Linked DNA regions of Homo sapiens: all the other regions are linked to region 1. Evidence: promoter capture Hi-C in human tissues and cell types (Jung and others, 2019). All regions are on one chromosome and are shown on one strand. The core of a region is centred on a gene start or on the middle of the fragment in contact, and the rest is flanking DNA. Distances in the headings are between cores, read along the strand shown. Region 1 holds the start of ZMYND12 (zinc finger MYND-type containing 12). Region 2 has its middle 13 kb from the start of ERMAP. Region 3 overlaps FOXJ3 (forkhead box J3). Region 4 has its middle 27 kb from the start of CLDN19.

Region 1 (2,798 bases), core at 224-2,723:
CCTCTTTCCTTAACACAAATGAGAGCATGTCAGCTCAAAACCATTCATGGTTTCCCAGGAGATAAATTCCAAACCCTTGATCTCATGTCACTGTCTAGCCCTAACCTTTATCTTCTTGGTTTAAACTTCTACTACCTATCACAATGATGTTCCAACTTTTTTTTTTTTTTTTGAGACACAGTTTCACTCTTGTTGCCCAAGCTGGAGTGCAATGGAGCGATCTCGGCTCACTGCAACCTCCGCCTCCCGGGTTCAAACGATTCTCCTGCTTCAGCCTCCCGAGTAGCTAGGATTACAGGTGCACGCCACCACATCCGGCTAATTTTGACTCAACCTATAGTAAGAAATACATTTTTCCTGTACACACACACATGTCCACATAAAACACTAAGACAAAAGTTTTAAGAAACAATTCAGGTAGGATTAACCTGATACTTTCTACTCATTCTGTGCTCTTTTTTGTTGTTGTTGTTTTCTCTAAATGGTGATTGTGACTTATTCATAAACTGCTAAAGGGCCCTGGCCTGCAGTTTGAAAATCACTGACTGCTCCCTCCACTACTACGTTCTCCACTCGGCCCTTAGCAAACTCTGTTCTTTTGCCATTTGCCCTAGCAGTCCCGGATGCCGGGAATGCCCTACCCTTCTTCACTACTCCTGTACACAGCAGGTTCTGACTGCCCTCTCAAAATGCAGCTCAAATGTTTCTTCCACAGGGAAAGCTTTCCACATACTGCCCCATTCACTATCGTCTCACTCTCGTTGCCCAAGCTGGAGTGCAGTGGCGCGATCTCCGCTCACTGCGAGCTCCGCCTCCCGGGTTCAAGCGATTCTTCTGCTTCAGCCTCCCGAGTAGCTGGGATTACAGGCGCCCAGCACCACTCCCGCCTAATTTTTGTATTTTTTAGTAGAGACAGGGTTTCACCATGTTGGCCAGGCTGGTCTCGAACTCCTGACCTCAGGCGATCCGCCCGCCTCGGCCTCCCGAAGTGCTGGGATTACAGGCGTGAGCCACCGCGCCCGGCCTGTTTCTTTACTGATTTGTCTCCCACATTGGAATGTTAGATCTTTGAAGGAACTGATCTACCGAGCTGCCCCAGTAACTTTAGCACCTAAAATAGTGCATAACACAGAGTACGCCTTCAGAAAACATGAGTGACGAATAAGTGGGAGATGAGACAGACGAGGCCACGGGAGTCTTAGGGGCCTGTCTTAAAGCCGTTTTGAGGTGTCCCTTGCAGAGTCAGGGGCAACGGCTAACGCAAGGTACCCAAGCCAGACCCGGGAAAGGGAGAGAGGGAGGGAGTTATAGCGCCCAGGTGCCACGTTTCAGGGCCTACCAGTAATAAGTGACTGTGCAGGCCGCGCACACCCGCTCGGCTGGGGCTTCGCACACCTCACAGCAGAGTCTGCGCCCCTTGGGGACTGCCAGTGGGTAGATCACATTCATGGTGCAGCCAGCAGTGCTGGTCTCTAAGACGGTTGCCCAGCAAGGATACGCTGAACCCCGGCGTCACGTGACGATCGCGGGGCTGCGTACTTGCCAGCATTTCAAGGGCAGAGGGCGGCGGGACGTGACTCGACTAACATCTGGGTGTATTGCTGAAGTTGGAAAAGGGGAAGAAAGAAAGAAAAAGCAGCACAAAACCCACAAGTCCCACGGGTCAAATGGCCGAGAAACGACTCCCAAGGAGTCCAAGTCCAGAAAGGCCCGTACAGTGGCCGGTAAGGGTCAAACATGGCCAGTTCTTCACCCAGGCTAGGAAACGAACGTGAGGGAACGTGACCCTACCAGATGCCCACCCAGCCGGGGATCCCCCTCGTTGCAGTGTCACTTTCGCTGGGCTCTGGGGCAGAACAACTACGCATTTCCAGACTTGGCGAGATCGGGACCTAGTGTCAAAAGAAGGGTAGTGAACCGCCCACTCAGTACGGCGCGGCGCGTACACCAGGTAGGCGAGAAGGGGCGTGGCGCGGCGGCCGCGAAACGTGCGCAGGCGCCGGCCGCTGCGCTGCAGATGGCGGAAATGGATCCGGTAGCCGAGTTCCCCCAGCCTCCCGGTGCTGCGCGCTGGGCTGAGGTTATGGCTCGCTTCGCGGCCAGGCTGGGCGCGCAGGGCCGGCGGGTGGTGTTGGTTACGTCAGGCGGCACCAAGGTCCCACTGGAAGCGCGGCCGGTGCGCTTCCTGGACAACTTCAGCAGCGGGCGGCGCGGTGCAACCTCGGCCGAGGCCTTCCTAGCCGCCGGCTACGGGGTCCTGTTCTTGTATCGCGCTCGCTCTGCCTTCCCCTATGCCCACCGCTTCCCACCCCAGACTTGGCTGTCCGCTCTGCGGCCTTCGGGCCCAGCCCTTTCGGGCTTGCTGAGCCTGGAGGCCGAGGAGAATGCACTTCCGGGTTTTGCTGAGGCTCTGAGGAGCTACCAGGAGGCTGCGGCTGCAGGCACCTTCCTGGCAGTAGAGTTCACCACTTTGGCGGACTATTTGCATCTGTTGCAGGCTGCGGCCCAGGCACTCAATCCGCTAGGTGCGTGCCCTAGGAGTACCCCTTTTGCCTGGAAGCACAGCCTTTCTTTCCAGCCACTTATCCCCTTACCTCCTGCTTACCCACGGATCTCAGCTGGGGAACCCGAGTTGAGAAGGAGCTGATCCTATATCGTACCTCGCCGATTTGTTAACACCTTGTGTTTCTCTTTGCAGGCCCTTCTGCGATGTTTTACCTGGCTGCGGCTGTGTCAGATTTCTATGTTCCTGTCTCTGAAATGCCTGAACACAAGATCCAGTCATCTGGGGGCCCACT
Region 2 (2,798 bases), core at 90-2,589, 350 kb after region 1:
CACTCCTCACTAAATGATTATTTTTGAAATTTTTTCACAAAAATATTATTTATGTTATCCTATAATGGGTTATCACTTTTAAATGAATTAGTAAATATTTTTTAAGCTTTTAACTTCTAATAAAGCAAATATGATATATACAACAATTTTTAGAGTATGTAAAACCCCTGAGACCAAAACACTTAAGAATTATTGACTTAGGGGCCGGGCACGGTGGCTCGTGCCTGTTAATTCCAGCACTTTGGGAGGCTGAGGTGGGTGGATCACTTGAGATCAGGAGTTTGAGACCAGCCTGACCAACATAGTGAAACCCTATATCTATTAAAAATACAAAAATTAGTCAGGTGTAGTGGCGGGCGCCTGTAATCCCAGCTGCTCGCGAGGCTGAGGCAGGAGAATTTCTTGAACCCAGGAGGCAGTGCTGAGATAGCACCACTGCACTCTAGCCTGAGTGACAGAGCAAGACTCCATCTCAAAAAAAAAAAAAAAGTATTGACTTAGGGAGATTAACACTTGCCCACACAATCACCAAGTAGTGGATCTTAGAGCTTGACTTCCAAAGTCAGTGTTATCATTATTGGTTTTAGATGTAAAGCTTCAAAAATATCTCTGTACCTTTGAGAAACTGGGGATGGACCACATCAGGATGAGGGAATTCTGGGCAGGTAAGCAGAGATGATGTGTTCCTAGTTTTCTTTGACTATGCTTATAAGACCCTTAGCATTCAATGTTATTCCAATTATGGACACAATGGCCTCTGGACCCCTTACGCTGGTATTTCTTAGAGGTAGAAGATAAATCTTTTTCTTTCTAAAATGTGAATAAAAGGCCAGGTATGGTGGCTCATGCCTGTAATCCCAGCATTTGGGAGGCCAGGAGTTTGAGACCAGCCTAGGCAATGTGGCGATTCCCCATCTTTACAAAAAAATTTTAAAAAACTAGCTGGGTGTGGTGGAACACATCTGTAGTCCTAGCTACTCGGGAGGCTGAGGTAGGAGGATTGCTTGAGCCCAGGAGTTCAAGGCTGCAGTGAGCCATGACTGTACCACTTGCACTCCAGCCTGGGTGACAGAGCAAGACCCTGACTCAAAGGGGAAAAAAAAAAAAAAAACAGGAAGGGGGAATACAAAGATGACCCATTGCTCTCTTGGTTCAGGCATCCTCTTGTATCTCGATTTTTTTTTTTTTTTTTTTTTTACCACAACCCACAGTAAGGAATAATTTTTACATCCAATGCAGTATACACATTCATGTGTATGTAAGCCTAAAACAAAAGTTTCACCAAACAATATCCTTACCACATGTGGCAGTTTTTTTTGTTTGTTGTTTTGTTTTGTTTTGTTTTGAGTCTCGCTCTGTCGCCCAGGCTGGAGTGCAGTGGCGCGATCTCCACTCACTGCAAACTCCACCTCGTGGGTTCACGCCATTCTCCTGCCTCAGCCTCCTGTGCTGAGACCAGCTCAGTAGGGTAGACCCTAATCCAGTGGCACTAGAGGAATTAAAGACACACACACACAGAAATATACAGGTGTTAAGTGGGAAATCAGGGGTCTCACAGCCTTCAGAGCTGACAGCCTCAAACAGAGATTTACCCACGTATTTATTAACAGCAAGCCAGTCATTAGCATTGTTTCTATAGATATTAAATTAACTAAAAGTATCCCTTATGGGAAATGAAGGGATGGGCCAAATTAAAGGGATAGGTTGGGCTAGTTAACTGCAGCAGGAGCATGTCCTTAAGGCACAGATCGCTCATGCTATTGTTTGTGGGTTAAGAATGCCTTTAAGTGGTTTTCCACCCTGGGTGGGCCAGGTGTTCCTTGCCCTCATTCCAGTAAATCCACAACCTTCCAGCGTGGGTGTTGTGACCATCATAACATGTCACAGTGCTGCAGAGATTTTGTTTGTGGCCAGTTTTGGGGCCAGTTTATGGCCAGATTTTGGGGGGCTTGTTCCCAACACTCCTGAGTAGCTAGGACTACAGGCGCCCGCTACCACGCCTAATTTTTTTTTTTTGTATTTTTAGTAGAGACCGGGTTTCACCCTGTTAGCCAGAATGGTCTTGATTTCCTGACCTCGTGATCCACCCGCCTCGGCCTCCCAACATGCTGGGATTACAGGCGTGAGCCACTGCGCCCGGCCCCACATGTGGTATTTTCTAATTTGTTATTTCATTAAAAAGAAAAGCTGGTCATAATTTACTAAACTGATTTTACAACCACTTGTGCCCTACTAGAGTGTTTCTCCACGACAAGAATATACCCAAGGCTGAGAGATGTTAATACAAGCAGTTCCCAACTAAGAATCTTTCCAGACAATGATCATGTCTTTCCTGGTTATGTGAAATCTGAAAACATTTCCCATGAAACAATCTGAAAGGTGGCTGGGAAGGGAAGTAACATTTTCTGAGTGCTATGGTTTGAATATGTCCCCCAAAGTTCGTGTGTTAGAAATAATCCCCAATGCAACAGTGTTAAGAGGTGGAAACTTTAAGAGATGATTAGGTTATGAGGGCTCTGCCATCATGAATGATTAATGCTGTCTGTTATTGCTGGAGTAGGCTAGTTATCTTGGGAGTGGGTTCCTAATAAAAGGCTGAAGTTTGGCCTCCTTCTTCTTCCGTTGCCCTTTCACCTTCAGCCACAGGATAATGTAGCAAGATGGCCCTCAGCAGATGTGGGCCCCTCCACCTTGGACATCCCAGCTTCCAGAACTGTAAGAAACCAATCTCTGTTCTTCATAAATTACCCAATCTAGGCCAGGTATGTTGGCTCATCCCTGTAATCCCAGTACTTTGC
Region 3 (2,798 bases), core at 109-2,608, 260 kb before region 1:
TCAAGAGAGGCAGGTTCACATTTAGAGGCAACACATAGTACAATTTAATGCAATGACTTAACGCAGGTGGATTAGATCATATAGTAAGAGTAAATGCTTCTTCCAAGGCAACCTTAGGAGAAAAAAATTTAACATAGTCCCCCTGCCAAGGTAGCGAAGGAAGAAGGGTGAGATCTCTGCAAGAAATGCTGATGAATCCACGTCAGGGCATTTTTAGTCAGAAATGGTATCCTCTGGTATGACATCAGAAGAGTTTAAGACTCCATAATCTGTATGTCAGCAAACCAGTCATTAGTCAGAGGCCATGCAGCAAGAGTTACCTTCAATGAGACAGCAGTGCTGAATAGTGGAAGAAAATTCTTCATTTCAGTGACTGCTGTCAAGCCACTGTTTCTAGGACCTCCCCCGGATGGATGAAGATAAAGACCAATAAAAAGGGCTGGTTGGTTTGCTTTTGCTACATCAAGGCAACTCTTGGCTATATCAACTACTGGCTACTTGATTACAAAATTCTGCCAATAATGGATTTTTAAAATAAACAATCAACTAGAGACAACATGACCCTGCCATGAAGCAAGTCGTAACTTAGGAAGAAATTTGTTAGGTGGGAGGGGATTAAACTAATATCCAAATGAGCCACGAACATGCAAGTCTACCAGACTCAGATCCTTTAGTTCAAGAAGAACTTCATGGATAAGGAAACCAAGGTTCAAAGGAATTATATGATTTAAGTCACTTAGGTAATACAACAGCCAAAGCAGTACTAGAATCCAGATCTCTTGAGGTAAACACAACTCAGGTAGTCAAAAGGTCAGGGTAGGAAAAAGGTTAACTGAAATGAAATTATGAGCAGGAACCAGGACATTTGCCATGACTAATTTGTTGTTGTTGTTGTGGGTAAGAGGAAGAGGAGGCTCCTTTAATAAATAGTGACCTGGCAAATAAAAATAAAGCAAACTCTGCAGCGACTGGGTGAGCAAACCCTACCCACTTAGCAAATGTCTGCTAATTTTAGTTCTTTTAGAATAACTGGTGTTATAAGCTTTGAAGTCAGACATGTCAGAATATAAACCCCAGTTCTACCACTTACCACAGTATGATCTTAAGCAAATTACTTAAAATTCTTTTAGTTGCACTTTTCCTATATATAAAATGTGGTCATCTATACTTGATTTGGCAGGATAATGTAAGATAATGTATCTAAATTATAAACAAGAGTTAAAATAAAAACCTGCAAGGGTTGCTGGGTTTGCCTATGTTGCCACAATAAATTTTAATCAAGAAAGTCGCCAGGTCAGTCTATGAATTAAATGAGTTACAACTATAGGATTATAGCAAGGAAACAGATGTAAAGAGGTTTTGGTAGTAAATACTACATGAGCTCTAAATAACAAAGGACAGATCCTAATTCACAGTTAGCCAAACACAAACCAGGAGACAAAAACTTACCAGAATTACAGGATACCTGTTGTGGGGGTGGGGGTGCCTGATGTGTTAACGTCTGATGCTGATGGTTCGGATGGTGCTGTATGTGTTGATGTGGAGAGGGATGCTGGGGGTGAGGGGACTGGAGCTGGCTGTGTTGCTGTGGGTGTGGTGCTGGGTGTGGGGAACGCTGCGGATGCTGCGGTAAACCATGCGGTCGATGGGGAGGATGTGGAGATGGCTGTGTGTGCATCTGGGGGTGAGACAGTGAGACCTGTGCAACCGAATTACTGCCTGTGGTGTTGAGGCCACTGCCATGACTGTTGGACAGGCTGCTTTGGTTGCTGTGTGGGTGAGTGCTCACTGTACTGCTGGGAGAGTGCTGATAGGTACATGAAGTGTGGGACTGCTGGGAAGATTCAGAAGGGATGTTCATCAAACCTAAAAACAAAGCAAGATCATTTATGGTCAGATTTCAGTTGTATTTTATGACAAACATTTGTAAAATTATTAACATAACAAAAGCATATGATGCCAGGAAGCAACACTGGTTCAATTTAATAAGTGTTAATCCAACATCCACTGCACACTAGGCTCTGTGGTTATTGAGAAGAAATATAATGCCCCACCCTCAAGTGGAAGAGAAAGACAAGATTATGACCAACAATTTAAGTACTAAAGCTAAAGTATACAGAGGATTATGAAAACTGCTCCTTGTCTGTTCAGCTAGGAGAAGGCTGAAAATATAGAGAAGCCTTTCTTTTAAAGACAGTGCCTGAACTGAGTCTTGAAAGATAAGGAAATGTTCGGGGAAAAGTGGGAAAGGTGTGGGGGTCACACTCAGGATGGCTCTCTGTAGGCATAAAGACCAAGGCTTTGATAGAAGACCGCACAATCTAAACTAAATCTCGACTGGCTAATAGTTTAAAACTTTTCCAAATAGGTAAAAGTAATGGAAAGACAAAGGAAAAGAGGAAGTTGTTTATGCCAAATAGGGAAGGGGCATAGGCTGCAAGCTGGAACATGCCTGTGAGCACGTCCAGCACAAATATCTCAGTTAAGGTACAAGGACATAGAATGTACTACGTGCCTGTGAGCATGTTTAACAGCTACACAGGATAGGGCCCAACAAAAAGTTATTAGCATAAAGTAAGGAGGCTTAAAGGAAGTTAGTTTTTAAAAGAAACTATTATTTCTAACACTTATGATTTACTCTTTAACAAGAAGGGAAACTATGAAGAGGAACTTTTTACTTTCTACATAGTGAAGGTGTAAGCTGCAGGATGAGCTCTGTAAATGTTAGCTGCCATGATGATGATTAAGCCAAAAATGTTTAATGTTAAGGATAATTTATGTTTGTTCTCCAAGTAGTT
Region 4 (2,798 bases), core at 146-2,645, 260 kb after region 1:
AACTTTATCTTTCTAAAGAACCAGCTTTTTGTTATCTTAATCCTTTGTATTTTTTTTTAGTCTTTATTTCATTTAGTTCTCTGATCTTTACTGCTTCTGCTCATTTGGGGTTTGGTTTGTTCTTGCTCTTTCACTTTCTTGGGGTGCATCATTAGATTGTTCACTTGAAATCTTTCTACTTTTTTGATGTAGGCATTTGTTGCTATTAATTTCCCTCTTAGTAGTGCTTTTGTTGTATCAAACAGGTTTTGGTGTGTTGTGTTTCTGTTTTCATTTCTTTCAAGAAATTTTGTTTCCATCTAATTTCTTCATTGACCCAATTGGTAGTTCAAAAGCATGTTGTTTGATTTCCATGTATTCATAAAGTTTCTCAAGTTCTTCTTGGTGTTGATTGATAGTTTTATTCCATTGTTGTCTGAGAAGATATTTGATATGACTTCTGTTTTTTTAAAATTTGTTGAGATTTGTTTTGTGGTTTAACATATGGTCTGTCCTACAGAATGTTCCATGTGCTGATGAGAAGAATGTCTATTCTGTAGTTAAAATGCTCTGTAAATGTCTCTTCGGTTTATTTGCTCTAGAGTCCAGTTTAAATTCAATATTTCTTTCTTTCTTTTTTTTTTTTTTTTTTTTTTTGAGACAGAGTTTCACTCTTGTTGCCCAGGCTGGAGTGCAATGGCGTGATTGTGGCTCACTGTAACCTCCACCTCCTGGGTTCAAGTGATTCTCCTGCCTCAGCCTCCTGAGCAGCTGGGGTTATAGGCATGCGCCACCATGCCCAGCTAATTCTGTATTTTTAGTAGAGATGGGGTTTCTCCATGTTGGTCAGGCTGGTCTTGAACTCCCGACCTCAGGTGATCCACCTGCCTCAGCTTCCCAAAGTGCTGGGATTACAGGCGTGAGCCACTGCTCCCAGCCTTCAACATTTCTTTATTGATTTTCTCCTGAGGTTTATTTGCTCTAAGGTCCAGTTTAAATTCAGTATTTCTTTATTGATTTTCTCCTGAGATGATCTGTCTAAGCTGAGTGTGGAGTTTTGAAGTCCCAGCTTTTATTGTATTGAAGTCTCTCTTTAGATCTAGCAATATTTACTTTTTGAGTCTCAGTGCCCCAGTTTTGGGTGCATACATATTTAGAATTTTTATATCCTCTTGCTGGATTGATCCCTTTGTCATTATATAGTTACCTTCTTTGTCTCTTTTTACTGTTTTGACTTAATATCTGTTTTATTTAATACAGGTATAGCTTGTATCAAAGCTCCTGCTTGCTTTTGGTTTCTAGTTGTGTGGAGTGTTTTTTCTGTCCCTTTACTTTGAGTCTATATGTGTCTTTGCAGGTAAAGTGGGTTTCTTGTAGGCAGCATATAGTTGGATCATGTTTCTTTATTCATTCAGCCAGTCTGTGTTTTAAGTGGAAAATTTAACCCATTTACATTCAAGGTTATTATTGCTATGTTATATTTTGTTATTGTCACATTGTTAATTGTTTTCTGATTGCTTTGTATATTTGTTTCTTTTTTTCCTCATTGTTTGTTATTGTGGTTTAGTGATATGTTATAGTGGTACCATTTGAGTCCTTCCTCATTTGTGTGTTTAACTTACCAATGAGTTTTATACTTTAGTGCTCTTTAATGATGGTAAATGTTGTCCTTTCTCTTGCAAGTTTAGGACTCCCTTGAGCATTTTATGTAGAGCTGGTCTAGTGGTGTTAAATTCCCTCAGCATTTGCTTCTCTAGAAAAGACTTTATTTCTCCTTCATTTGTGAAGGATAATTTTGCTCATGTAATATCATTGCATGGCATTTTTTTTTCTTTCAGCACTTTGAATATTTCATCCCATTCTCTCCTGGCCTATACGGTTTCTGCTGAGAACTCTGCTGTTAGTCTGATGAGGGTTCTTTTGTAGGTGCCTCTGCTTTTCTCTTGCTGTTTTTAGTATACTCTCTTTTGCTTTGGCTTTAGATAGTTTTGACTGTGTACAAGACCTTTTTGTACTGTTTGGGGATCTTTGGGTCACCTGGATCTGGATGTTTAGGTCTCTTGCTAGACTTGGATAGTTTTCATCTAATATTTCATTAAATAGGTTTTCTAACCCTTTCATTCTCTGTTTGCCCTCAGGGACACTGATAATTCAAATATTCTGTCACTTTTTGTCATTACAGATGTCATGAAGGCTTTTCTCATTGACTGACCGATTTTGACAGAGTCTCACTCTTGCCCAGGCTGGAGTGTAGTAACATTAACATGGCTCACTTCAGCCTTGATCTCCTGGGCTCAAGAGATTATCCTGCCTCATCCTCCTGTGTAGCTGGAGCTACCACGCCCAGCTAACTTTTTATTGAGATAGGGTCTCACTTTACTGCCCAGGCTGACCTTGACCTCCTGGGCTTAAGCAATCCTCCTGCCTTGGCCTCCCAAAGTGCTGGGATTACAGCCATGAGCCACTGTGCCTGGCCTTCTTTTTAATTCATTTTTTTTTTTTTTTTGTCTGACTTGATTATTTCAAAAGGCCTGTTTTTAAGTTCTGAGATTCTTTCTTCTGTTTGATGTAGTAGTCCATTGTTAAAGCTTTCAAATGTATTTTGTATTGCATTCAGTTAATTCTTCTGTTCCAAAATTTGTTTGGTGCTTTTTTTTTTTTTTTTTTTTTTGAGACAGAGTTTTGCTCTTGTTGCCCAGGCTAGAGTGCAATGGTGCAATCTTGGCTTACACAGCCACCACCTCTCAGGTTCAAGTGATTCTCCTTCCTCTGCCTCCCAAGTAGCTGGGATTACAGGCATGTACCACCATGCCCAGCTA

What was found. The method cuts DNA at HindIII sites, captures the fragments that hold promoters and counts their contacts. A contact is called where the count stands out against the background at its distance.
Region 2: a fragment that was not itself captured here is called in contact with the fragment with the promoter of ZMYND12 in region 1 in 1 of the 25 tissues and cell types used here (pancreas).
Region 3: a fragment that was not itself captured here is called in contact with the fragment with the promoter of ZMYND12 in region 1 in 2 of the 25 tissues and cell types used here (hippocampus and thymus).
Region 4: a fragment that was not itself captured here is called in contact with the fragment with the promoter of ZMYND12 in region 1 in 2 of the 25 tissues and cell types used here (neural progenitor cells and psoas muscle).

Annotation. Positions count from the first base shown.
Region 1 is chr1:42,454,549-42,457,346 of GRCh38, forward strand. It overlaps ZMYND12 (zinc finger MYND-type containing 12), which reads right to left and starts at 1,474. Exons shown (of 8, transcript NM_032257.5): 1 at 1,340-1,474. The coding sequence starts at 1,449. It overlaps PPCS (phosphopantothenoylcysteine synthetase), which reads left to right and starts at 1,995. Exons shown (of 3, transcript NM_024664.4): 1 at 1,995-2,525; 2 at 2,699-2,798. The coding sequence starts at 2,018. It also overlaps a transcript of CCDC30 not described here. RefSeq lists enhancers at 1,596-1,825, 2,066-2,135, 2,226-2,345. The HindIII fragment of the contact is 5,227 bases long and covers 1-2,798 here.
Region 2 is chr1:42,802,745-42,805,542 of GRCh38, forward strand. No RefSeq gene overlaps it. Among named protein-coding and RNA genes, the nearest start is that of ERMAP, 13 kb to the right of the region's middle. The HindIII fragment of the contact is 4,811 bases long and covers 1-2,798 here.
Region 3 is chr1:42,189,854-42,192,651 of GRCh38, forward strand. It overlaps FOXJ3 (forkhead box J3), which reads right to left. Exons shown (of 13, transcript NM_014947.5): 9 at 1,450-1,866. Among named protein-coding and RNA genes, the nearest start is that of GUCA2A, 27 kb to the left of the region's middle. The HindIII fragment of the contact is 3,563 bases long and covers 1-2,798 here.
Region 4 is chr1:42,712,072-42,714,869 of GRCh38, forward strand. No RefSeq gene overlaps it. Among named protein-coding and RNA genes, the nearest start is that of CLDN19, 27 kb to the right of the region's middle. The HindIII fragment of the contact is 4,114 bases long and covers 1-2,798 here.